5 separate regions of the Homo sapiens genome follow, and regions 2, 3, 4 and 5 are each linked to region 1. Evidence: promoter capture Hi-C in 16 types of primary human blood cells and fetal thymus (Javierre and others, 2016). All regions are on one chromosome and are shown on one strand. Each heading gives the region's core, a stretch centred on a gene start or on the middle of the fragment in contact. The rest is flanking DNA. Distances are from core to core; before and after follow the strand shown. Region 1 holds the start of ACSL6 (acyl-CoA synthetase long chain family member 6). Region 2 overlaps RAPGEF6 (Rap guanine nucleotide exchange factor 6). Region 3 overlaps RAPGEF6 (Rap guanine nucleotide exchange factor 6). Region 4 overlaps LOC105379173 (a long non-coding RNA gene). Region 5 overlaps RAPGEF6 (Rap guanine nucleotide exchange factor 6).

Region 1 (5,675 bases), core at 692-3,191:
GAGCTGACCACTTTAGGAAATGCTCCACAAGGAAACAGGACTCCACTTTGAGTCAGTGCCAGCTAACCCTGCTCACAGACAAGGACCCCACAGGGTGAGGGACTTTTTCTCACAGGCTGCTGATGACCCCGGTCACAAGTGGTCTTGCAGCCCCTAGACACCTCCCTGCAGCCACAGAAGATCAAGTCTTCAGAGAGCTGACCTTGGACCCATGGTTGGGTGGGGCCTCCTGAGGGTAGGGCAAAGGGGTCCTGGCAGTGGGGAGAGGCTCTGAGACCATCCATCACTCAGGCATTAAATGGTGGCTGTTACGACCACCATCACCATTATTTTAATTATCCTTGCCCTTTACCTCCAACCCCAGCTCTAGCCCTGCCCTTGTCTGCTGGATGTGCCTCAGGACCAGAGTGCCCCTGCACAGCCAGTCACAGACACTGGCAGACAGAAGGAGCTTAGGGAGCTGAGGGGATTAGGGAGGCTTCACTCACTCTCCCAGCTCAGGGGAAGTGTCCCTGTGGCCTAACTTAAGGAAATGGTGGGGGTGAAGGAAGTGATTACTAGGCCCACCAACCCTCCAGGTTCAGGCCTGATCCAGCCAAGCACTTAGCATTGGTTGATCAATTAAAACCTCGAATGGAATCCCAGTCTGCCAAATATCCATGTGACACTAGGCAAGTCAATTGACCTCTGAACTCAGTAAAAAAAGGGATGGTGCCACCGACCTCCTAGGGTTTTCCATGAATATTAAATAACACGTACAAAGCCTCAGGTAAAGATTTCAAGAGGGTCAACTTCCTCCCCTTCCTTGGCTCAGAAAAAGCTTTATTACCACTTCTGATGGTGCTGTTTGAATGTGAGATAATAATAAACACTAACATTCATAGAGCATTTGCTGTGGCCTAGGACAGGTTTAAGGCCAATTTAAGGATCAAGCACTGCACACAAATTATCAGGCTGAATCTGCACATGGGGGTTGGGGTGGAGGTGGAGATCCTTTAGTGGTATTATACTCTGGAGGACCCCAGGCTCAGAGAGGGGAAGTAGCCGGTGCAGGTGGTAGAACTGGCAGATAAAAGGGCCTGTGGTGAGACTCCAGGTGTGGGTGTATGGGGGGTTGAGGGAGGTAAGCGCGGAGGCGGGATCGAGCAGGGGTCCTTGTAGCCGCCTAAGAAGTGCAGTGGTGAAGCTGACTCCTGTGAGGTGGAGGGGAGGGGTCTGGAAACAGTGGAGACACAGCAGCCCTGGGCAGAGCAGAGGAGCCAGGTGAACCCTACCTTACAGAAATCTTGTACTCTGGCTGAAGGACGGGCAGGGAGGGGTCGTGAGGAAGCCCCTCGCCGGGATCAGGAAGCCTAGGTCAGTCCGGGTTACATAGCTGACCTGCTGTGGGACCTCGGGGACCAACACCCTCGGTTTCTGGTCCCAGGAGATGGACAAGGACGCAATGTCTGTTCCTGGCCTTGGCTCAGGGCCTAATCTGATCCGCGGATGGTCCTTGCCATCAGGGAAGGGGGACGCAAGAACTCGGCGGGGGTTTGTGGTGGGGTCGCAGAGAGCAAGCCCTATATCTCCCTCCGCAGACCCAGGTGCTCCCCAAACCCGGCCCGGAGCCCGCGAGAACTGGGGGCGGAGGGTGTACTTAGGCGGCCCTGGGGACCTTGACGGGACAGCTCAGCAGCAGGGGATGGGGGCTCGGCGGCCGCGGAGATGTAACACCTCCACCTCGGGCGAAGACCTCATAGCCTGCGGGAGATGGGAGTCCGGGACGCGGACAGGACGGGCACTTACCTACGAATAGCCAGAGGGAGCCCCCCGACACGAGGAAGAAGGTCAGCATGGCGGTCAGCGGGGCCCGGCCCGGCCCGGCCCGGCCTCCCCGACCCGCAGCCCCGCAGCCCCGCAGCCCAGCAGCCCCAGCAGTAGCCGCGCCGCCGCCGCCGCTGCCGGGTATTTTTAGCCCCCGCCCTCCGGCCCCGCAGCTCCCGCCTCCCCGCGCCGCTGCGGAGACGGCTCAAGGGGGAGGGCGCGGCGCGCACTCGCAACCGAGCCTTACTCCCTGCCCTGCAGCCTGGCCGGCCGGGTCTGGGGCTTGCCCCGCACTGACCGCGGTGTCGGAACCGCCAAGCTCCCGGGCGGGGGAGGGGCCCGGCCGCAGAGCGAACCAGCCCTCTCCGGCCCCGCTCTCCAACGTCAGTACCTGGCATTCTGCGGAAACCGGCTGGAAGGGGGAGCACGGGCGACGAGCGCCAGAGCGTGACATTGAGCCCACCCCGCCGCCACCCACCCCATCAACACGCGACCCTGCCCCCGCGCGACTCGCAGCCTGGGTTTTATGGCTGGGCAGGCTCGAATGGCAGCCGGGTCGCGGTTACCTGTCCTAGGAGGTGCACACTCCTGTGGGCTGTTGCCCGCTGACACCAACGCCCCCTAGGACCCGAGTTTGCAGACATGGGGAGCCTCCGGGTGCCACCTCTGCAAACCAGTGAGGGGAGGGAGTGGCAAGTGTTCACCTAGGCTCTGACAAATCAGGCAGCTAGACCAGATAGTGCCCAGATCATCTGGGGACGCACGAGTTCAGGTCTGAGGCTACGCAAGGTCACAGGAGACTCAGTGTGATCACAGGCTGCCATATGTGTTCACCAGTAGTAACATGGTCACAGGCAGCCACATGGAATCACAGGTGTCTCATGAGGAAATCATGATCTTCGTACACAACTGTATGTGGCACACGAGGTCTCAAGAAGCCCCTCATAGCCACAATAAATGGCCATATAGCCACACACAGCCACAGATGCCCACACTGCTGGGCTGAGGGCTTGGACACCTGTTGCAGTGTCTGCCATTGAAAGGAGGAAGCCCAGTTGCACATTTTCTGAAATAATAAGGGTAGGCATCCTGGTGGGCACCCCATGAACATCTGCACCTCCAAGCAAGATCACCTCTTCCCAATGCCCTTGCTTGTTTTCCTCAAGCATGCAGAGCCCACCAGGACTCCAGCACCGAGGACAGCGCTCAGGCAGCCGGGCCTTCTCTATACGCAGCCCTCCCAGGCCAGGAGCTGGCTGAGCCACAGCCCAGAAAGAAGAGGATAGAAAACCAGAGAGCAGAAGTCAGGAAGCAGAGAGTGGAAGAGCATGAGATCTCTTCAGGCCCACCAGAGACCATCAGCCATGAGTGCATGTGGGCTCACAGCTCAGCAGCTGGGTGTGTGGGGGGGCCTGTATCTGTAGTACGAGTACATGGCATGTGTGTGCCCAGGCCTGTGTGCACCTTGTAGTGGTGCAAGTGTGCAGATGTGTGCCTCTGAGTCACTTCCAATCTTTACAATAGGATCCTACACCTTCTCCATCATAGGATCTGGACTCCTGGGAGAGCTGCTCCAGCTTGAACTCAGCCACAGCCTGGCAGGGACTTTGCTGGGATCTCAAGCTTGGCAGGGCTCCTCCAAGAGGGTGTGACAGAGGCTGTATGGCAGGACTCCTCCCAGCAAGTAACATGGCTTTGAGAATCCCCCCACCCCACCCATACACTCCCACTGGCAGCAGAGTAACTGGAGATCTGCTAGTACTGAAGAGGAGACCCAGGGGAACCAGAAGCCTGGGCAGAAAGAACATATCTCCCCAGACCAGATTGGTCTAGGGAGGTGGTCAGGTAATTTCCCCATAGGCCAGTGGTTCAACAGAGCATTTCTTCACAGAGCAGGGGGCCAGGAGCCAGGCTGCAAGCCTCAGGCCTCTGCGGCACTCAGCTGCAGGAGCACTCCGGGCCCTATGCGGCTCTGGCAGCCTCCTCTTCAGAGTGATGTCATGGGACACATTTAGCTTGGCCTCCAGCAGGATGTCGCATCCCGTTACTCTCCCTACAGATGTCTCTGCTACTTGTGAATATTTTAATTCAAAAACCAGTACTGGAGCTGTGACTGATTCTAGCTTAGCCAAGTATTTTTCTGTTTTCCTCTGAGCATGGCTTGGCTTCCCCTGAGAGATGGGGACAGAAAGGCCCTAGCCTGGTTGTGGGATCATGGCCAGGTCTCTCTCCTCTCTAGGCCTGTTCCTTCCACTGAGTAATGGGACTTGTTCTTTCCTGTCCTGAGTTCCCAAGGTCTTCTTCCTTCTCTGTGAGTCTCAATCTGTGGACCATCTGCAGGCATGGGTAGACGCTGTGACTCAGGCCCTAGACTGCATGGGTGTGGCATCCATGGAACCCAGGGCCCAGAAATGCCCAGGCCAGGCTGGGGAGCCCTTGGATATCCCTCTTGGTCCTTAGCCAGCAAATCCAGCCACCTTAGCGGCCAGCCATGTTCACACATATCTCCTCCCAGACTAGCATCTCTAAGTGGGTTGGCAGGCAGGAGCCTAATCATCTATTTGCAGCCCTGGCTTGGGGTCTGGCCCAAAGAATGCAGAGGATATTATCCCATTTGACAGAGCAGAAGACTGACGTTGGGAAAGGCGAACAACTGTCTTAGGTCACACAGCAGTTCTGGGCTCCTGACTCCCATTTATTCATTTTTCATTCATTCTCTCCTACATTTTGATAGTTTCCCAAGTTGCAAGTGTCTCCGGTAGAATCCAGAAAACTCACTTTTCCAGCTTCCTTTGCAGCTAGGAGTGGATTAGTGACTTAGACTGTACCAATGAAACACACTCTCATGAGCCTTCGATAAAAAAGCCAGAAATGAGTGAAAGAAAGTCATGCACATGGCATCTACGTTGCTGGCACAAGGGTGGTAACAGAAGCCATGGATGGTGGATGATTCTGGGAGTCATTTCAGAAACTGAAATTTGAGCCTGTTTCTTGAAGTGCCCCAAAAGTTGAGCCTTTTAGAAGTGAACATGTTCTTTAATGTACTCTTTTTCTGATTAAAACAGTCAGTCCAGACTTTGTTTAGTCAGTTTGGAGCCAAGAACTCAAACTGATCCACTCACCATCCCACTGCTGAAGGTCTTTCCTGCCCTCCAGAGGGTGTGGATATGGGGCTGGCACACAGCATGATGCATCCTCTGTCCCCATTACTGCATCTCCTAGTGGAAGCTCTGACTGATGGGGCTGGGTGGGCTGAGCCAGGTCTTTGCTTCTCTGTATTCTGACAACCACATATTTGGAGACCTGAACCAAAAACTTGAAACTCAACAAAGAATCCACTAAGGATAACTACCCAATCTGGAGCAAAGGCTTTTAACACATGATATAATGGTTGGGGAGCTGCAAACAATATTCAACCATGTCTTTTACTGAGTAGTGGTGTTTTTTCCCCCTCAGATTAGTAAAATTGTTCAACATAGAAATTTTGGAAAATATAGAAAAGTATAAGATAAAATCACTTGTAATTTCATCCCCCAATGAGAATGCAATAATAACTAATGCAGTTCTGTATATTTTCTAACAACAATAATAATATCCAACATTTACACAGGGCTTAGTATGAGCCAGACATTATTTCTAAGCACTTTACGTATGTGTTATGGACCGAATTGTGTCCCCCACATCCCAGTTCATATATGGAAGCTCTAACCTTCAATGTGACTGTATTTAGAGACAGGGTCTTTAAGGTAAGTAAGGATAAATGAGGTCATAAGGGTGGAGCACTAATCCAATAGGACTAGTGTCCTTATAAGAAGAGTAACATCAGGAATAAAGACCTGAACTTTATTGCGAGAAAGTTTATTGTGATA
Region 2 (4,909 bases), core at 1,284-3,783, 540 kb before region 1:
TAAGGGAACAAATTTGGTCACATCCTTACAAAAATTGTATATTAATGTTTTGTTTTGCTTTCCCATTTCATAAGCCCTATTCTTTTCCTCCCTCCAAAAAAATATCATTATTTTTTCATTTCTTTGGTTACTGGTAAGACTCAGTAACTGATAATGGTTTAATGAACCATTATGTCTTTTTAAAAATATTTTTTGGTATCCCTTATGTTTTTTTCCTGCTGTATTGTAGTAGATAACAACACTTAGTCCAACTATGAAGTGGAAAATGTTAGTTTCCATATTTTATTTATTTGTAACACAAGAACATTTTAAATGTTCACCTGGTGAAATCTTAGTCTTTGCCCTTGTGATTTCTGCTATTAGTAGAAAAATTCTAATTTGAGACAATGTTTATATGATAAGCACATGTAAATAATAATATTCCACCCCCCCTTGTTCTATCTTATTTCTTTTTGTCATTATAGAACTCTGGACCAATGTTCAACATGATAAGCTAATATTTAATATAATTAAATTTAAGTGAAAAGTGACTTTATAGCATGAACAAATGCTAAAAATTTTCCCTATGACAATAAATTACTGTTGCAAAAGTTTCCTTTTTAAAAAAATTAGGAATACAGGCTGGGTATGACTCACACCTGTAATCCCAGGACTTTGGGAGGCCAAGGCTGGAAGATCACTTGAGCCCAGGAGTTCGAGACCAGCCTGGATATATAGCAAGACCCCATCTCTACAAAAAATTTTTAAAAATTAGCTGGGTGTGGTGGCACATTCTTGTAGTTCCAGCTACTCGGGAGGTGGAAGTGGGAGCATCACTTGAGCCTGGGAGGTTGAAGCTGCAGTGAGCTGAGATCATGCCACTGCACTCCACTCTGGGCAACAGAGTAAGACCCAGTCTCAAAAAAGAAAAAAAGAATTAGGGAATATATATTACTGTGGCTTTTTTGTATGTGTGTGATGACTGCAGTGGGGGCAGGATGGAAGATTTTGGGGGCTCAAGTAATTATACTGTTTGTCCAGCATCACCTTCTTAGCATTATGGACACTGTTAGCCTTTAGAGGAAAACAAAACAAAACAAAACAAATTACAAATTTATCTCAAAATGTCCTGAGGTATAATCCCTGGTTAAAAGGGAGAAATGGAACAGATACAGATATGGCAGGAAATATTTTCATAAAATAAATTTTTTGGTCCTCTTGAGACTGAGGACCAAAAAAAAAAAAAAAAAAAGACTTGCTCTGAGGACTGAAAGATTCAACTGAATATACATGAATATAATTCCAGGGACAAGGAGTCTTAGCCAACATATGTTGAATGTTCTGGGTCCTCTCAAGTTGAAAGTAGAATACTTCATCTACTCTGGTTCCTTCTGTAAGAAGGATGCATCAAACTCTCTTTCCTCAATGTATTAAGAAATCTGAGTCATCAAATGCATCTTGTTCAGATTTCATTCTGATGAGCCAATACTTAGTGGGCTGCTGACATCATCAGGTTTTTAAACCTACAAGACTTAAGGTCAGACTGTTTCAAGATCCATCAAAATCAGACATACTTCTTGAAAGGTTTGGCTGTGTCCCCAACCAAATCTCATCTTGAATTGTAACTCCCACAATTCCCACATGTCATGGGAGGGAGCCAGTGGGAGGTAACTGAATCATGGGGGTGAGTCTTTCTCATGCTGTTCTCACAATAGTGAACAAGTCTCACGAGATCTGATGGTTTTAAACAGAGGAGTTCCCCTGCACAAACTCTCTTTGCCTGCTGTCATCCAAGATGTGACTTGCTCCTCCTTGCTTTCTGCCATGATTGTGAGGCTTCCCCAGCCACGTGGAACTGCGAGTGCATTAAACCTCTTTCCTTTGTAAATTGTCCAGTCTTGGGTATGTCTTTATCAGCAGCATGAAAACGGACTAATATACCTCTCTACCCTGTGCTAGAAGATTATTGCAAACAAATGGAAATTTCAATTTGCCAAGAGAAATATACTGAACAAATGGGTTTCCACTATCTTTTTAAGTCCATAAAAAAGGAACCAACAATATACTGTTATTACCTGTACTGTTGCTACCCTCTTCATAAAAGTAGGTCCTAGCTGTCCTGGGCTCCAGAATTGAATCATTTTACTAGATCTTTGGGGGCTGAGCCTTAGCCAGTGGTACTGACTGACCTTGAGGGAATGGGGAGATGTTCTGATACCTTTTATTACTTTCTTCAGAGAAATTTATTCACAAAGACAGGGTGGGAATTTGTACACATTTCATGTTCTCTTCCCTTGCTGCCAATATACTGTAACATCTTCTGGGAAGGAGCACACAATTGTATATCTTGCTGCATAGTGTTACAAAGTCATACGTTGTTAAAGTGATTTGTCCATGTGAAGGACAAATTGTTATATGATCACATAAGATTGATTCAGGTATCACACATGGGTGCCTTTAGAACAGATTCATAAATGGGATTATCTAAAGGGTATCCCTTAATCCAAACTCTGATGAATCTGCCAAGGTAACAAATGTCAACTTGGAAAAGCAATGGAGAGCCATCAGAGGAAAATCTTTCTCTGCGTTAATATTAATGACAGTGTAAACCTCTATTTTAGAATTATTACGTATATATTACATACTATTCTTTACAAACATGTTTCTTGTTAGTAGGAAAACCACATACATGCCAAGCACAATATTTGGCATGCAGCAGACACTCAAATGTTAATCGCTTAGATGAATGGTCAATATGTTCGAATAAAGTTGAATCAAAAGGGAAAAAATGATCCAATCATTTCAAATTTTAGGCACAAATCTAAAATGCAGACAAAAATACAGTACAATTTTAAAGGCAAAACAGACATTTAAAAAGAATCTTGGAAGCCAGGGGCGGTAGTTCATGCTTATAATTCTAGCACTTTAGGGGGCTGAGGTGGGCAGACCACTTGAGCCCAGGAGATCAAAACCAGCCTGGGGAACATGGAGAAGCCCGCCTCCACAAAAATTACAAATATTATCTGGGCGTGGTGGTGTGTGCCTATAGGCCCAGCTACTCGGGAGTTTGAGGTGGGAGGATCACTTGGGCCCAGGAAGTAGAGGCTGCAGTGAGCCGAGATCATACTACTGCAGTCCAGCCTGGGTGACAGAGTGAGGCTCTGTCAAAAAAAAAAATCTTGGGGTCGGGCGCAGTGGCTTATGCCAGTAATTCCAGCACTTTGGGAGGCCGAGGTGGGCGGATCACGAGGTCAGGAGAATGAGACCATCCTGGCTAACACCGTGAAACCCCATCTCTACTAAAAAAAAATACAAAAAAATTAGCTGGGCGTGGTGGCGGGCACCTATAATCCCAGCTACTCGGGAGGCTGAGGCAGGAGAATGGCATGAACCCGGGAGGCGTAGCTTGCAGTGAGCCAAGATCGCGCCACTGCACTCCAGCCTGGGTGACAAAGCGAGACTCCATCTCAAAAAAAAAAAAAAAAAAAAAAATCTTGGAGGATCAAGGTTTGTATTTCATATGTAGAAATCTTATGTAATAGGTAAATAAATTAAATAGAAACCTGATATCTAGACTTTCAATCAGAGATGAAGTTTCTAGAGAGCTAATTTATAAATCTTACAGCGGTAAAATTAAAAAATGAATACTTGAAGGATGTATGTACTGACCCTGAGATTACACTAAAAATGGGAGAACTTTTAGGTATTTAAGATGATCTTTAAAAAAAAAGACTGACTTTTCATTCTGCTTTAAATTGTTAATTGTTGAATAAATATTTATGAAGTGCCTGTTATGTGTCAACAGGGTTCCAGGTGATGAAGCTACAGTGCTAAGTGAGACAGATTAAGCCTCCACTCTCAGGGAATTTACTTACATTCAAGTGAGTAAACACGAGCTCGACGAAAGACAAGACATTGAGTAAGGAAGAGAATTCATACAGCAAAAAGCGCCACACAAAAAAACAAAGGGTAGTGGTATATTAAGGATTGAAAAAATTGTTCTGCAAAGAGCCAGATAGTAAACATTTTAAGTTTTGCAGGTCAAATGGCAAAACACATATTTTTTAGGCACTTATATAATGAGAAAACAAATTCTCACAAAATAGTTTTTCAAAACTCAAAATATAATAATGCATACATAAAACAGGTAAAGATACGTGAACACAAAGATTAGGCAATACTGTAAATGTCTACTAATGGGGACTGCTTAAAAAAATTCTGTTAGCTGTTTAAAAATTTGTGGTAGAACAACACACCTTGAAACAGAAAAGTATTCAAAGGTATATTGCTAAAGTGAAACAGTTAAGTGGAAGAAAAGTAAAACATCTCATTTGGGGTGAAAGCAACAGCAGACACATTTTATGTGCAATGAAATTTCTGGAAGGATATACAAGTAAATAATAACTAAATTCTGAGGAGTGGAAACTTTTATATTCTATCTTATTCTGGCAGTTTAATTTTTTTAAAGCTATGACTGTGTTCCTTTATAATTAAAAACTAATAATAAAAAATTTTCAATGAAGAAAAAATTAAGTTTACTATATGAAATAAATCAATTAAGGGTTTGGGCTATTAAGTGAAAAGAAGTAAGCTGTAAGTTCTACATGCAGATATAGAAAAAAATTCCTTTTCAAATTTCTCTTAGCCACACTCCTAATTTTTTTTAGGACTCATTTTGTATTGAGTCAGAAATCCCAAAGAACATTTCAGAAGTTACAGAATAGCATGTATACTGATTCCATCCAAACTTAAAAACATATATATATTCAAAAAAATGACTAAAAAGACACATGCCAGTTAATACTGGCTACCTTCTAAGTGGAAAGAAAAGTTGTGCTTACTACTTCATTCAATTCTGTATCATTGGACTTTTAAAAAATAACAAAATAATACATACAAACAAGGGCAATAGAATACTACAGTCTTTAAG
Region 3 (5,179 bases), core at 371-2,870, 520 kb before region 1:
ATTCTACGGATGGGAAAATGGCCCTGGAAAAAGAGACATCACTTTGGGATATGGTCCCAGGAGTGGGAAAAGGCTTTGACACATCCAGAGTTTTTCACTATCTTTTTGGATTGTTATGTTTGTTTATAGTTTTTCATATTTAGTCTAGCTCTTTTAAGTTGTCTTCAGTCAATACTGGAAGTAGAAAGTTGACACAAGTTTTGTTTAATACATTTTCCTCAGCTCATAGTGAGGCCTTTGAAATACGAGAGTCACATCCTTCTTTTACTCTGGGATATTCTCTGCTATTATTTCCTAAACATCTTCTTCCTTACATTTTCTTTTAGATATCCTGGAATAGAGCTTAATTTTACTTTGTCTTTTTGTTCCATAGTATGGGAGATTTTTCTCAACTTTATTATCTATTCTTTCAAACAAATGTTTTTGTCTGTAAGAGTTACTTCTTTCTCAATGATTGTTGTTTATTCTTTCCTAATATCCTGTTCTTGTTTCAAGGGATAAATTTTTTTTTTTTTTTTTTTTTGAGATAGAGTCTCGCTCTGTCCCCCAGGCGGGAGTGCAGTGGCGCAATCTCGGCTCACTGCAAGCTCTGCCTCTCAAGGGATAAATTTTTAAATTGCTCTGTGCAGCGTCCTAGAAATGTTTTTCTTCTCTCCTTTAAATATTTTCTCCAGAATCTATAAGATCACTCATTAGGTCTCTACCACACCCTCTCAATGATCCTGATTCTCCTTATGCTTGGTGATCCCTGATCGTCAGTTTTAAGTAATAAAAGGACTGAGAATGGTTTGTTCTAGTATTGTGTCCAGAGTTGGTTCCTTCCGGTGGGTTCCTGGTCTCGCTGACTTCAAGAATGAAGATGCAGACCTTCACGGTTGAGTGTTACAGCTCTTAAAGATGGTGTGTCTGGAGTTTGTTCCTTCAGATGTGTCCGGAGTTTCTTCCTTCCGGTGGGTTCATGGTCTTGCTGACTTCAAGAATGAAGCCGCGGACCTTCGCGGCGAGTGTTACAGCTCTTAAAGGTGGTGCAGACCCAAAGAGTGAGCAGCAGCAAGATTTATTGTGAAGAATGAAAGAACAAAGCTTCCAGAGGGTGGAAGGGGACCCTGGCAGCTTGCCCCTGCTGGCTGGGGTGGCCAGCTTTTATTCCCTTATTTGTCCCTGCCCACATCCTGCTGATTGGTCCATTTTACAGAGTGCTTGATTGGTCCATTTTACAGAGTGCTAATTGGTCCATTTTACAGAGTGCTGATTGGTGCATTTACAATCCTTTAGCTAGACACAGAGCACTGATTGGTGCGTTTTTACAGAGTGCTGATTGTGCATTTACAATCCTTTAGCTAGACACAGAGTGCTGATTGGTGCATTTACAATCCTTTACCTAGACCCAGAGCGCTGATTGGTGTGTTTTTACAGAGTGCTGATTGGTGCGTTTACAATCTCTAGCTAGACAGAAATGTTCTCCGAGTCCCTACTTGACCCAGGAAGTCCAGCTGGCTTCACCTCTCAGTATCACTGAACCAATGTCTTCTGGTCACAGGTTTCCTTTTTGTAGGTGTCCTCACTGTAAGTTTGATACAGGACAACCTAACTGCTCAACTCTATTTCATGGTAATGCCAGAGTTATTAGGGCTTTATTAGGGGCATCACCACATCTAGAGTAAAATGCTCCATTTCTACAAATATTTTACAAATATTCCTTTGTAATTTAATAGATAAATTAAAATTCCAGAATAGAAAGAGAGTAAACTGAGATTGCCAGCTGTTTTCTTCTCTGGGTGCATTTTCTAAATCTAAACATGAGGTATTTAGCTTTCTCCTTGGTGTTTTGCTTTCCTCCTAGGGTAAGGAAGAAAGAGGTGACTGCTATGTTCCCCCTTTGCAGCTCCATGTAACTTCTACCCTCTGCTATATCCAACCTAGGGTTCTGTTGGCCAACTGTTTTCCCACTACTCAAAGGGTTCTGAGGGTATGGCTTCTGTCTTTTGCATCCTTCAGATCTACTTTTCTGTGTCCCAGAGTTCATGGGGGTTCACACTATCTCTGTATTTTTATTCAGAATATTTAATACCAGTTAGTAATCTTTATGTGACGGGTACAAAAGGTTTAAAGGTATTAGATACTTAGAAGAAACCTAGGAAATAGTGCTAGAGAAACTGAAGCTTGGAAAGACTAAATAATTTGCTCAAAGTAAGAGAGCAAGTCCTGCTTTCTTATTTTTCGAAACTGGAAATCTCTTTCATTTAACCTAAAAGTTGGCATTTCTAGATATTAGTCGAAACTCCAGGAAATCAAAAAATTCTGAAGGCTTACTTACTTATTCTATGCTAAAGTAATATAATACTAAATTGCCAATTGACAGTTTACCAGATTTAACATGATGTAATTCAGTCAAAGGGACTCAAAAAGAGGAAAAACCCCACGTTTCATTTTTCATTATGACTAAGCACAATATAAAAAGCCAAAGTGAAAAAAATAAAACTCACACTTCCCTTCCGTAGGCATAGCTTTTAAAGCCAACTCTTACTTCTCAAATTGTAACCTAAAAAACCTAGAGAGATTTGTTTTCCTCCCTACTTCATAAGGACTCTTAAAGTTTCTTTGTTATTTCAATTGCTGTATGATTTTTACTGTTACTCTTTTCAGAATTTCTGAAAAATCCTAAAGTGTCTAAGGCAATCAAATCACATTAAATCTTTCCTAAAAGTTTAAAAAAACACACAGTAGATTTGGTTAAAAGTATGAGCTTAGTCACTGGTTTTATTTAAATATAAACATGATAAAAACACAACAGAGGCACTGTAATCATTTTTCCACACAAAGGTAGAGTATGCTCTTATTAGAAATCTGTAATTCACTAAGTACTTAAGTCAATGCTTTACTCAGTTTATTTCCATAAAACAGCTAATCTGGCATTCATATTACTTCAGAAAGCTGGCTTAAAGATTAGAAGTAGACTAATTTGCACACTAGCTGGGGGAAAAAATGCCTGATTATGACTTCTTAGTTTTATTCCGGACATTCTATATTTCATTCAGTATCCCTCCAGCAGAGTACATAATACACGCTCCATAGGAATTTCATAAATAACTGAAGGTAGCTGTACACCTATTTTAAAACTTACTATCAAAATAATTAAAAACATAATGAAAAATGAAAATTCTAGAATACATAATAGTTCAAAACTAAAGATTCTGAAACTAGCTGAAGAGCTTAGACAAAAACATGTTTATATTTTACTATCTTTTCTTCCACTGTAATGACTTTTCTATTACCAAATTAAGAAGAAAGAGTTCAGGCAATTTTTACAACAAAACTCACCAAAAATGTTGGTCTTCACAGTAAGTGCAAGATGAGTATTATTCCTCAAAATTTCAACGGCTTTCATAAATGTAATATTCTCAAAGTTTTGTCCATTTACTTCCATAATCTTAAAAGTATTTAAAAAATACAAATTAATACAGAACAGTATTAGTTACTCCTACAACCTTAAAAGTTTAATAGTGAATAAATAAAATGAAACTTGAATAAAATGTACTCCTATGTGAACAACAGTTATCTCTGTGAGAAGCTGGACTACTGTTTTTCTTTTTCTCTATATTGTTGTATTTTCCAAATTCTTTACTATAAACTTTTTTTTTTTTGACAGTTAATGCCCTCTGGGATCATACTGAGGAAATTTAAAAAATACCCACACCAGATGGTTTACAAAGGAAAACATTTAATCATGGCAGATCAGCTCATAAAAATTATTGCCTGCAAATGTATATACAAATTTGTCAAATATTCTCAATGTAAATTTACTGAATTTCAAAGAGAGGTAATTCTTTTAAAGGGAGTACTCTAAATATATTTAATATGATTTTCTGCCACTGATTGAATCAGGCAGCCAAACAGCAAGAAGCACAACTGAAATGGGTTCTTCTTCCAGGTAAACACTGCTGACCCTTCACAAGAGGGCTTCCCCAATTTGGCTATACCTCAGAATCATAGAAGCAGTTTATTTCAAGAAGTACTGATTCTAAGGGAAAAGGATAAAAAGATATAATGAGCAAAAACTAGTCAGAACAGAGAGCAGATCTAGGGGATCAACATAAAAATTTCTAAAGGATAAGAAAAAGAGTGAAAAAATATTAGGGAAAGAAAAAAAAATTCCATAGAAGTAAAATTCCCAGAGTTGAAAAAAGACTTGCATCTATGCACTAAAATGTCTCATCTAGTACCATGCAAAAATAATAAAAAGAGATCTATTTTTAAAAACATATCCCAATGAAATTTCTTTGTTCCAAGAAGAAAGAATAAAGAATCTATAAACATCATTGTGGGAAGATAACCCAAAGGTACCTACAAAAGAAGCGCAAAGAGTTTGGACTTCTCTTGGGCAACATTAAGTTGATGTGATAACTTTCTGTGACTTTAGTATTCTGAGGGAAAAGTCACTGTGGGAAAAAAATGTTACGCTCTATTGAACACAAGTATCTTCAGGAAGGCAAGAACATATAATACTGTATCACCCATCTGTTCCTTAAAAAAGTACTAAAAGAAGTACCAAAGACAACTGTGAAATGAGTTGAAATAATGGGGATATACAGTGCAAATGAAATAAAAGTGATCAATGAAATCAGTTAAGCAGGTGTAAATGTCTAAATGCTTGTTTAAAAGCTTATGAAACTTAACTCAAACATCAAAAGCCTTCTTGAAACAGAAGATACATAATGTTAAAAAGTAACAATAATGTAGATCTAAAATCTCAGATCATTTCAACAGTAGTTGGGAAGATTGAAGGAAGAAGTAAAAGCATGATAAATTTCATTCTCAAGAATGATTTCACGTGTGTGTGTGTGTGTGAATTAGATTATTAAATGTGTCTGTGATACAAATAACTGAACAATAAATATACTGATTACAGGATTCTAGCTATTAGACATTCCTAATGAGTAGTCTGGGGTCAGGCCCAGAAAACTCTATTGTGGAAGCTGTCCTGGGAATTGTAGGCTGTTTAGCAGCATCCTCGGCCTCTGTCCACCAACATGCCAGTAATAATCCCCAAGTCATAATAATAAAAAATATCTGCAGACATTGCCACTAGTTGAGAACCACTGTTCTAGAGTGTAGAACCTTTCATAATATGAATGAGCTCATAATTTTTAAAAAATGATAACATGGCTCCGTTAAAATA
Region 4 (5,437 bases), core at 593-3,092, 600 kb before region 1:
CTGAATAAACCGATAATTGAACCTATTCTGGAAGTTCTACTTTGTGTTTTTTTCTTAAGAAGGAAAATGGAGATGGTAATTATGTGAGCATTTTTACCACCTGTTTCATCAGAAGCCTATGTTGCTGATTTTCTCTTTCACTAGTCCTTACAAATCCCCCATTTTATGAAACACCAAGGGCCTGAGGAACTTTCACAAGAGCAGCCTTCAGCTAGACTGAAGTGCCTGCCTGCCTTCAGATTATTCATTATGTCAGAGAGCTGCAAGAGGTGACTGGCAGACAAGAGAGAAAACTCTCTACTCAGTTCACAAACTGCCAAGCAGAAAGACGAGTGTGCCAATGTAAGGCAGGTCAAAGAACTGCCCTGCATTCTGGATTCTGAGTCAAGGAGATCACTAAGAGGTTTGTTTAATCCTAGACCATGCTGTGTTTGCCTCTCATTGACTTCCTGGCTTGGCTGCAATGGGTTGTCCCCTTCCTTAGCGCCTGGCAGGCTAGGAAAGTCCAATGTCCATGTCACAGGGTTTGGCACGTGGTGTTTTCCACATGCGATGCTACATCAAGATTTGTGTCTGAGGTTTCAGTTGAAATTATCAAATGGCTTTTCTCAAGCCATTCATGATCTGCTCATCCACTATTAAGTCCCTGCTATATGCGATGCACAGCAAGTATGCTCTGTATAAAACACCAGTCATCATCTTAGTGCCCTCAAGCAAACAAGGACCCCGTGTGTTATGGTTTATAGAGCCATGCAGAATTCCTGCTGCCTGAGGAACAAAAACAGCCCAGTCTTGAGGTCTTGAGTAGTTGCTGAAAAATCTGAGCTTTTAACATGGTCTCTTTTAGGGTCTCCAATTCTTATTATGGTCAGGCTCTCACACACCTGCTTTTTAACAAGATCTCACTAAAGGCAACAATTTTTGCTGGCATAGCGTGTTGGGCACAGGTGGTCTCAATTATTGTTTATCCCAAGTACGCATGTAAATGTGAAAAGAGAAAAGTACATCGGGCAATTGAGTCTGACTTTCATTTTTCAGCTGTGTGTCCAAGTCTACTGTAAGGCAATTCTTAATGTACACTTGATTTCCATAATGTTTCCCTTCTATTTTCCCACCTGCTGTTGGCTTTGAACAACCTTACCTGAGCTGAGAATGGCTGCTTCTCTGGCAAGAAGTTTCTAGAATGTGTTTGCTGGGCCAAAGCTTGGACACCTGATCTCTTCAGAGATCTTGTGGATAGACTGATAGAGAAGAAAGAAAATAACTCATGCAGCAATGTATAAAACAGACGAAGAGGTGTTACAATGATCAAAAGGGACAAAGTAAAACATACAGAAGTCTAACTGATTCTGCATCATTGTGAATCAAATTACATACTAACATGAATTTTACAGAGATCCAAAGCCTTTTTGAGCTAAAGCCAAAGAACCAGGAGATCTTTATTTTTTTAACTGCAGTAAAATATACACAACATAAAATTTACCATGTTAACCATTGTTTTTCCTTTTTGAGACTCTGTTGCCCTGGCTGGCATGCAGTGGTGGGATCATAGCTTACTGCAGCCTCTAACTCCAGGGCTCAAGCGATTCTCCCACTTCAGCCAACCAAGTAGCTGGGACTACAGGTGCCCATCACCATGCTCAGTTAATTTTTAAAAGTTTTTATTTGTATAGACAGGAGTCTTGCTCTGTTGCCAGGCGGGTCTTCAACTCCTGGGCTCAAGCAATTCTCTTGCCTCAGCCTCCCAAAGTGCTGGGATTATAGGCATAAGCCATCATGCCTGGTCTTTTTTTTTTTTTTTTTTGAGACCGATTCTCCCTCTGTCTTCCAGGCTAGAGCACAGTAGCGTGATCTTGGCTCACTGCAACCTCTGCCTCCCACGTTCAAGTAAACCTCATACCTCAGCCTCCTGAGTAGCTGGGACTACAGGCGCACGCCACCATGCCCAGCCAAGTTTTGTATTTTCAGTAGAGACAGGATTTCACCATGTTGCCCAGGCTGGTCTTGAACTCTCGGCCTCAAGTGATTCACCCACCTTGGCCTTCCAAAGTACCAGGATTACAAGTGTGAGCCATCAAGCCCAGAAGTCTTAACCATTTTTAAGAGTACGATATCAGTAGTGTTAAGTACTTTCACATGTTGTACAACCACATTCGCATTGCTGTTGAACATTTTCATCTTGCAAAACTATACTAATTAAATAACTCCCCATTTCTCCCTACGCCTGGCAACCACCATTCTACTTTATCTATGAATTTGACTGCTCTAAGTACCTCATAAATTCATATACATGTTCTCATGTATCCATATATATGTGGAATCATACAATATTTGTCTTTCAGTGACTGGCTTATTTTACTTGGCATGTTTGTTCTCAAGGTTCATCTATTTTGTCTTTATTAAAATACCAATGACATTCTTCACAGAAATAGAAAAAAAAAATCCTAAAATTTATATGGAACCACAAAAGACTCAGCACAGCCAAGCTTATCCTAAGCAAAAAGAACAAAACAGAAGGAATCACATTACCTGACTTCAAATTATACTATGGAGGTATAGTAACCAAAAGAACATGGTTCTGGCATAAAAACAGACAAAGACCAATGGAACAGAATAGAGAACACAGAAAGAAGTCCATGCACCTAGAGTGAATTCATTTTCAACAAAGGTGCCAAGAACATACACTGAAGACAGTCTCTTCAATAAATGGTGCTGGGAAAACTGGATTTCCATATTCAGAAGAATGAAATTAGACACCTCTCACCATATAAAAAAATCAAATCAAAATGGATTAAGGATTTAAAACTAAGACCTCAAACTATGAAACGACTACAAGAAAACATTGAGGAAAGTCTCCAGGACATTGGTCTAGGCAAAAATTTCATGAGCAACACCCTACAAGCACAGGCAACCAAAGCAAAAATGGACAAATGGGGCCGGGTGTGGTGGCTCACACCTGTAATCCCAACACTTTGGGAGGCTGAGGTGGGTGGATCACAAGGTCAAGAGATCAAAACCATCCTAGCCAACATGGTGAAACCTTGTCTCTAATAAAAATACAAAAATTAGCTGGGCATGGTGGCGCACACCTGTAGTTCCAGCTACTCTGGAGGCTGAGGCAGGAGAATCACTTGAACCTAGGAGGTGGAGCCTGCAGTGAGCCGAGATCGCGCCACTGCACTCCAGCCTGGCAACCGAGTGAGATTCTGTCTCAATAAAATAAAATAAAATAAAATGGACAAATGGAATCACAACAAGTTAAAAATCTTCTGGGCCGGGCACGGTGGCTCACGCCTGTAATCCCAGCACTTTGGGAGGCCGAGGCGGGTGGATCACGAGGTCAGGAGATTGAGACCATCCTGGCTAACACGGCGAAACCCCGTCTCTACTGAAAAATACAAAAAATTATCCAGGTGTGGTGGCGGGCGCCTGTAGTCCCAGCTACTTGGGAGGCTGATGCAGGAGAATGGCGTGAACCTGGGAGGTGGAGCTTGCAGTGAGCCAAGATCATGCCACTGCACTCCAGCCTGGGCAACAGAGCAAGACTCCATCTCAAAAAAAAAAAAAAATCTTCTGCACTGCAAAGGAAACAATCAGGAAACAATCAACAAAGTGAAGACACAACCCACAAAATGGGAGAAAATATTTGCAAACTACCCATCTGACAAGGGATTAATAACCAGAATATATAGAAGCTCAAACAACTCCATAGGAAAAAATCTAATACAATAAAAAAAATGGGCAAATGGTTTGAATAGAAATTTCTCAAAAGACATACAAATGGCAACAAATCAAAACTACAATGAGAAATCATCTCACCCTCAGTTAAAATGGCTTATATCCAAAAGACAGGCAATAACAAATGCCAAAAATGTGGAGGAAAGGCAACCCTTGTACAATGTTGGTGGGAATGTAAATTAGTGCAACCACTATGGAGAACTATTGGAGGTTCCTCAAAAAACTAAAAATAGAGCTACCATCCAACAGTAGGATCCAACAATCCTACTGCTGGGTATATATACCCAAAACAAAGGAAAGATATCTGCACTCCCATGTTTGTTACAGCACTGCTCATAAAAGCTAAGATTTGGAAGCAACCTAAGTGTCCATCAACAGATGAATGGATAAAGAAAACGTAGCACAGGCCAGGCGCGGTGGCTCATGCCTGTAATCCCAGCACTTCGGGAGGCTGAGGCAGGCAGACAGCTTGAGCTCAGGAGTTTGAGACTAGCCTGGGCAACATGACAAAAACCTTGTCTCTACTAAAAATACAAAAATTAGCTGGGCGTAGTGGCACATGCCTGTGGTCCCAGCTACTCGGGGGACTGAGGTGGGAGGATCACTTGAGCCCAGGAGGTGGAGGTTGCAGTGAGCCAAGACCACGCCACTGCATTCCATCCTGGGTGACAGAGACCCTGCCTCAAAAAAAAAAAAAAAAAAAAAATTGAGTGGCACATATACACAATGGAATACTATTCAGCTATAAAAAAGAATGTGATCCTGCGTGTCATTTGCAACAACATGGTTGGAACTGGAGATCATTACGTTAAGTGAAATAAGTCAGGCACAGAAAGACAAACATCACACGTTCTCACGTGTGTGATCTAAAAATCAAAACAATTGAATTCATGGACATAGAGAGTAGAAGGGTGGTTACCAGAGGTACAAAAACATAGTTAGAATGAGTAAGACTTACTATTTGACAGCACAATAGGGTAACTACAGTCAGTAATATACATTTTTAAATAAAAGTGTGTAATTGGATTGCTTGTAATATAAAAGATAAACGTTTGAGGGAATGGATGCCCCATTCTCCCTCTGATTATTTCATGTTGCATGCCTGTATCAAAACATCTCATGTACCCCATAAATATATATACCTATGTACCCACAAAAGTTAAAAATTAAAAAAATTGGCTGGGTGCAGTGGCTCACACCTGTAATCCCAGCACTTTGGGAGGCCCAGGTGGGCAGATCACCTGAGGTCAGGAGCTCGAGACCAGCCTGGCCAACATGGTGAAACCCCGTCTCTACTAAAAATACAAAAATTAGCTGGGCATGGTGGCACATGCCTGTAATTCCAGCTACTCAGGGAGGCTGAGGCAGAAGAATCAGTTGAATGTGGGAGGCGGAGGTTGCAATGAGCTGAGATCGTGCCACCGCACTCCAGCCTGGGTGACAGAACGAGATTCCATCTCAAAAAAAAAAAATTAAAAATTAAAACAATTGGCTGGGCATGGTGGCTCACGCCTGTAATCCCAGCACTTTGGGAGGCCGAGGTGGGCGGATCACCTGAGGTTGGGAGTTCAAGACTAGCCTGGCCAACATGGAGAAACCCTGTCTCTACTAAAAATACAAAAATCAGCCGAGCATGGTGGTGCATGCCTGTAATCCCAGCTACTCGGGAGGCTCAGGAGAATCACTTGAAACCAGGAGG
Region 5 (5,454 bases), core at 439-2,938, 570 kb before region 1:
TATCTCAACAGCTGTAACACAAGAAAACCAGAGACAGTGCTTTTATAAATCCATAGGTTTTCTGAATATGAATGTGAGAATAAAAAACTGAGAACCCTTACTTATAAAAGCTGCCTCCTTCATATAAAACCAATACTATAGTCCAAGGGGAAGACATTCTTCCATCAGGGAGTACTTTTAATCCTTAGGTTATCCAGGGTGGTTTCAATGCAGGTGCAGCCTCAGTACTTCATGAAGTATTTGTTTTAAACATCAAGATAAAAGCAAAAATAGATGTCTAAACTGTCTCAACACAGCTATAATAGCTATTATGCTTTTATTAAGACAGACTAGACAATATTTGGGGTGATAAGAATCAGAGAATGTCTTAGAAAGTTCAAATACAGGGACCCCAAGAGAAAATTGCAATGGCTCACCAACTAATTGAATCCAAGAGGTTATCATCTTTGGTTAGAGCCATGAAATACTTTCATCCTTCTCTCATTGATTGGTAAATGCTAATCAATGACATCTTATTTTAATAATTGCTACAGTACAAAGAAAAAAACCTGAGACTACTTCAAAAATAAGTTTACAGATGAATGACAAAAACCACATATATTCTAATTAATTGGGAAGAATCAAATTCTATAATGCTCAGAAATCAACTATTGTTTGGGCTTCGGATAGTGACTATTTAAACATTTAAAAATCAATTATGCATTATAAAGATGCTCAAACCAAATTAAAGGAACATGCATTTAACTAAATGTTCAAATCCAGTTTAAGAAAGAAAGGCCTAAAGATTTTCTCATTTTATTAAATATGTAGCATGGGACATCATTTAGTGCTATGAGAAAAGACAGACACAAGTCTGGGGTGGGTGTAAGAAGAGGAAGCCATGAGGGTGTATATAAACTGTGTTTCATAACCATAAGATGATTAAGTCTACATCAAATTACCTGGGAAAAAATAACTTTGATGATGACTCAAAGCAGGGCCAGAAAGCTTTAATAAATATGTACATGGCTTTGAACTTTAAAGCATGAATAAATGTTAAAGGTTCTATATACTCTTTCAGCTTTTACCTTTAACATGTACCATTTAACATGTGGCAGCCAGAATGTAGAAAGCTCTCAATAACTGTTAGCTTTTAAAAATGTCTTTTTCCAAATTTAATAACTTCGACGTACAAAGAATCACAGAAATAAAATGTACTCCCAACCCTTGCCCAAGTTTTACATTTGAGAAAACAGGGACTAAAGATGAAGAAAACCTTACTCAAATGTAATAAATGAAACTCAAATTCTGCCTCTATCCTTTCGTAGGTATTCTTTCCATCATACTCCAAATCTTTTCTTATATGCAGAAGCATTCAAGATATTGTTTTGATTATAGCACTTATTAAAAGGCTCCTTACCCTTATTTAAAAATTGTCAAAACTGAATTTTTAAAAATCAGTATTTGGTTCTATTTCCACTTCCTGTTTTCTATTCTTTCTTTTGACATACTTTAAAAAATTACTATGCAAATACCATATCATTTATCAATCTTAGGGTCAATCCATGATGACTACTACCCCTTGTCAACTAGGAACTTTGAAATAAAATTCTATTTCAATTTTTATGGGCAAATTTAACTCACTCTCTGTGTGTGTGTGTGTGTGTGTGTGTATTTATTTTTTAGAGACTGAGTCTCACTTTGTAAATTTAACCCACTGCGTGTGTCTGTGTGTGCGCGCGTATTTATTTTTGAGAGACTGAGTCTCACTTTGTTGCCCAGGGTGGAGAGCACTGGCATGGTCCTAGCTCACTGCAGCTTCAAACTCTTGGGCTCAAGTGACCTGCCTGCCTCAGCCTCCCAAGTTGCTAGCACTACCACTTGGATAATTTTAATTTTTTTTTGTAGAGATGGGGTCTCTTTGAGTTGCCAAGGCTGGCCTCAAGTGATCCTCCTGCCTAGGTTTCTAGGTGTGACCCACCACGCCTGGCCTTAACCTACAATTTAAGATGTACAATTATTTTGTTATAACAGTATATATTTCATTATCTTTGATTTCTGCTCTTAGAATTCATAATTTCCTTGATCCAAATATATATGCATTCTCTTGCTTGTATTTAATTAAAAAAAATCCATATTGAGAACACGATCTTTTCCATCACATTTTCTAGAGATTACTAATATTGGAATGTGTCTGATTTTTTTTTGTTTTACCTTACTACTGGCACCTGTAAGCTACCTATTATCACTGGTGTTTTAATCAAATTTCTTATATTTTCTAGTTGGTAAATATTATCCATGAAATAAAAAGAGGTAAAAATTCCACTTATGTTTACTCTTTAGGGATGAATATAAAAATGTTCTCAAACAGAAAGCCTCCTCTATAATGATCCAGTTTTTAAAAGAATTAAAAAGCTTTTTAAAGATCTACTTATCCCTCTATTTTTTGGATAGTGTAGCCATCAGGAATGGATGGGATTCAGTCTGTGATTAATTGGATCACATGATGCTTAAGGTATGCCAGCAATCTTTTGTGAGTGAAAGTTAATTTTCTTGGGACTTAGGTATAATTCTAGAGAAATAAGTTTTTATTTTGTTGTGCTCTTTAGCGTCACATAAATGAAAACTTGTACTCACAGGTACCATATGCAGGCTCCCACTGTAATGACATCATCTGGAACTTCTCCTCATCTGTCTCTACATCGAGACTGGAAAGATACTGCTTCACCTTCCTTGCCATTTGGGCATCCTCATATAGCTTCTTGGCATTAAGCAGAGAGCTGCGGCGTGCCCTTTTTTTGTGAGCACCTCCCTGAACATCCAGCATGTTTGAATTTGTGCTTCCTTGACTCAGTGACCTATAAGAAGATGAAAATCACAATAAGGGGCTATAGAGATGAGAACTAAGCATAGCAGATTGAAGATTAAAAGATTTTGTTCTGTTAATGCTATTGCATGCTGATGTAAATGAGTTAAAAGATGAAGAGCATTAATGCAAAGTAATTTGGCACATATGGTGACGTTCTGAATTAAGAACAGGATTTGGCAAAGTACAGAATTCAAAAGAATAGGATAACAATGGCCCCCTGAGTGGCATATTCCATCAGGCCTGTGTTTGTGCCTATGCAACCTATGGCACAACAGTAACAAGAAAAAGCATTCCTCTGGTCCTGGAGGCCACCCACGCTTTGAAGATATGGCAAGAGTCTGGACCACGACAAGTCCATCCTCAGCCGAATCTCTGAACCAGGGTTCTTTAGCAATGAGGGTTCTAAAGTAGTTTTGCTTGTTGTTCTGCTTTGGACATGCTATTGCCACTACCATTATAGCAGGCCCACTGTGAGCATGTTAACCAATTTTACTAGTAACCATTATTTTGGCCAAAACTCAAACAGAACTACCAATAACACGTTAGCTGAAAATTTACAGCATTTATATGCAATTCAATACAGTCGGACATCAGAATGCAGTAAAAACTCAATGCTTCCCTCAAATATGGAATGGTTAGGCAATATTTGGGTTCTAGAACTGAGGATCTGGGACATCACTTTTGTAATGCCTGTGAATGTGACAGAATTGCAAGCTGGGTGGAAATAACCACAATTCAAACAAACTACAGCTTCACCCGACTCTACTCTTTTTGGCAAACATCCTACAACGACTGCACATCTAGAACCAATGGAAAACAGCAACTGCAATGATGTTTGTCCTTTCTAACAAGGCTAACAAATACAAAATTCTTATATAATTTTTATTTAGATGGTATTTTATTTTGCCATTCCAAAATAATAAGGTTATCTATGGATTTTCTAAATTAAGCTCCATTTTTATATAAAAGTATTCTAAATACAAAGACCACAGTGCTCATATATCTACTTTAAAATAGACACTAAAATCCTAATGCTTTCATTGTAAATTAAGTGAAATATAGTTGAAAAAGTGTTATGGCATTTTTTTCTTTCACATTTTAAGATCTTTCCAATAGGGGTATATCTTACACTGAATGGCAACTTTCAATTGCTATTGGCCAGGCAGAAACTATGACAAGACATTATTTACATCTGCAGAGACCTCAAAACTTGCAGAATGGCTTGAAAGAAAATCCAAAGCCATTAGTGAATTAGTCTTTTAACCTCCAGGGACCAAATGATTATAAGGAAGTAGTAAATCTGACAAGTTCAAGAACATTCCCAAAGCAAGTGACAAGAGAAAACTAATTCTAATTATTTCCAAAGCTAGCCTGAGAGCCCAGCACCAGCAGCTTTTGGTTCTTTTGTGGTTTTTCAAAGAAATGGTGCATTACCAACACACTGGATGGCACAGAGGGCAATACTGTATGGGGAAGGAGGGTTCTGGAAAACAAAATCCAGAAGCTAATGACTCTAAAAGAAAACGTTTCAGAAGATTCATATTTTGAATATAAAGAAATTTTAGGAAAACCTAAACCAATTTACTTTGCTTATATTTTCCTTTTTATGTGAATAAAAATATTGATTTTTAAAAATTCAGTTTTCACACTGTGATAAAAATCCATAGCCAAGTCCATAAGAGCTCCTTCAATAAGCATAAAGTAGAAATTCTCAGTGGTAACAGGATACTGCAGTGATTTTCCTTAGTAGTAGATAAAATAACAATATGTCCAACAATTGACGTTGTCTTGAATTCAAAGAAATGCAGTAAAATCAAGTTGCAGCTATTTAGGAGCAAATTTTAACACAAATATTTAATGATTTTTATCTTAGTTAATATAAAAAAGTAGGTGTTGACAAATCTAGGAGACACAAAATTCTAACAAATAAAAACACTGTGATAAACGTCGATAAAATGTTTTCTAAACTACTTTGAAAACAGAAAATTGCTGATATAAAATAAATATACCTAATGTTTGTAAGCATCATACAGTGTAACCCTAAAGCTGAATGAACGTGAAACATGTTAACATAAGTCATTCAAACACACCCAATGCCCACTAAAAGATATTGTCCAAGTATTCTTCTTTATAATAGTAATGCCAGGTATCAATTTCTATTTTCAGTGAGAAGAGCCAAAAGAGACCAAGACATAAATTTGCGATCCAGAAGAAAACACATGGGAAACACACAGAGAAGGGAGAAAGAAAATAGAAGGAAAGTCAAGTTCACCAAGCATTAACAGAAAATAAGACCACAAATGAGGCAAGACTCGAATAAAGAAGGTGGCTCACAAAAAATTCTTCTTACATGTAATAAAAGCTTCTAACTTCATGGTTCACTACAAGTCTTAAAATAACAAAATTCTTCTTATGCAATCCCTTCATCCACAAAAGTCATCTCTTTCTTCATCTAAAAATGAAAGGACTAGATAGATGATATATAAGATCTTTAACATTCTATGATTCTAAATAGACACTTAGCTATGTAGAAGTAGAGACCTAACTCTATAACAAATAGTGTCAGTTGCTGATTCTATCACAACTTTAAAGATAAGGGAATCTTC

What was found. Contacts are between HindIII fragments. The CHiCAGO score rates a contact against its expected background, and 5 or more counts as called.
Region 2: a contact is called between a fragment that was not itself captured here and the fragment with the promoter of ACSL6 in region 1, in 1 of 17 cell types (naive CD8 T cells). The highest score is 5.0, in naive CD8 T cells.
Region 3: a fragment that was not itself captured here is called in contact with the fragment with the promoter of ACSL6 in region 1 in 1 of 17 cell types (activated CD4 T cells); the score reaches 5.6 in activated CD4 T cells.
Region 4: a fragment that was not itself captured here is called in contact with the fragment with the promoter of ACSL6 in region 1 in 1 of 17 cell types (endothelial precursors); the score reaches 6.0 in endothelial precursors.
Region 5: a fragment that was not itself captured here is called in contact with the fragment with the promoter of ACSL6 in region 1 in 5 of 17 cell types (endothelial precursors, M2 macrophages, erythroblasts and 2 more); the score reaches 10.0 in endothelial precursors.

What each region holds. Positions count from the first base shown.
Region 1 is chr5:132,009,717-132,015,391 of GRCh38, forward strand. It overlaps ACSL6 (acyl-CoA synthetase long chain family member 6), which reads right to left and starts at 1,942. Exons shown (of 21, transcript NM_001009185.3): 1 at 1,789-1,942. The coding sequence starts at 1,837. It overlaps LOC124901062 (a long non-coding RNA gene), which reads left to right and starts at 1,740. Exons shown (of 2, transcript XR_007058933.1): 1 at 1,740-1,829. The HindIII fragment of the contact is 2,609 bases long and covers 819-3,427 here.
Region 2 is chr5:131,464,884-131,469,792 of GRCh38, forward strand. The region is part of intron 17 of RAPGEF6 (Rap guanine nucleotide exchange factor 6); the gene reads right to left. Among named protein-coding and RNA genes, the nearest start is that of RAPGEF6, 170 kb to the right of the region's middle. The HindIII fragment of the contact is 6,775 bases long and covers 1-4,909 here.
Region 3 is chr5:131,486,225-131,491,403 of GRCh38, forward strand. It overlaps RAPGEF6 (Rap guanine nucleotide exchange factor 6), which reads right to left. Exons shown (of 28, transcript NM_016340.6): 15 at 3,322-3,430. Among named protein-coding and RNA genes, the nearest start is that of RAPGEF6, 150 kb to the right of the region's middle. The HindIII fragment of the contact is 1,079 bases long and covers 1,082-2,160 here.
Region 4 is chr5:131,406,967-131,412,403 of GRCh38, forward strand. LOC105379173 (a long non-coding RNA gene) reads right to left here. Exons shown (of 3, transcript XR_007058929.1): 3 at 1-1,241. Among named protein-coding and RNA genes, the nearest start is that of CDC42SE2, 150 kb to the left of the region's middle. RefSeq lists a silencer at 1,753-1,934. The HindIII fragment of the contact is 1,283 bases long and covers 1,202-2,484 here.
Region 5 is chr5:131,443,867-131,449,320 of GRCh38, forward strand. RAPGEF6 (Rap guanine nucleotide exchange factor 6) reads right to left here. Exons shown (of 28, transcript NM_016340.6): 22 at 2,617-2,837. Among named protein-coding and RNA genes, the nearest start is that of CDC42SE2, 180 kb to the left of the region's middle. The HindIII fragment of the contact is 1,407 bases long and covers 986-2,392 here.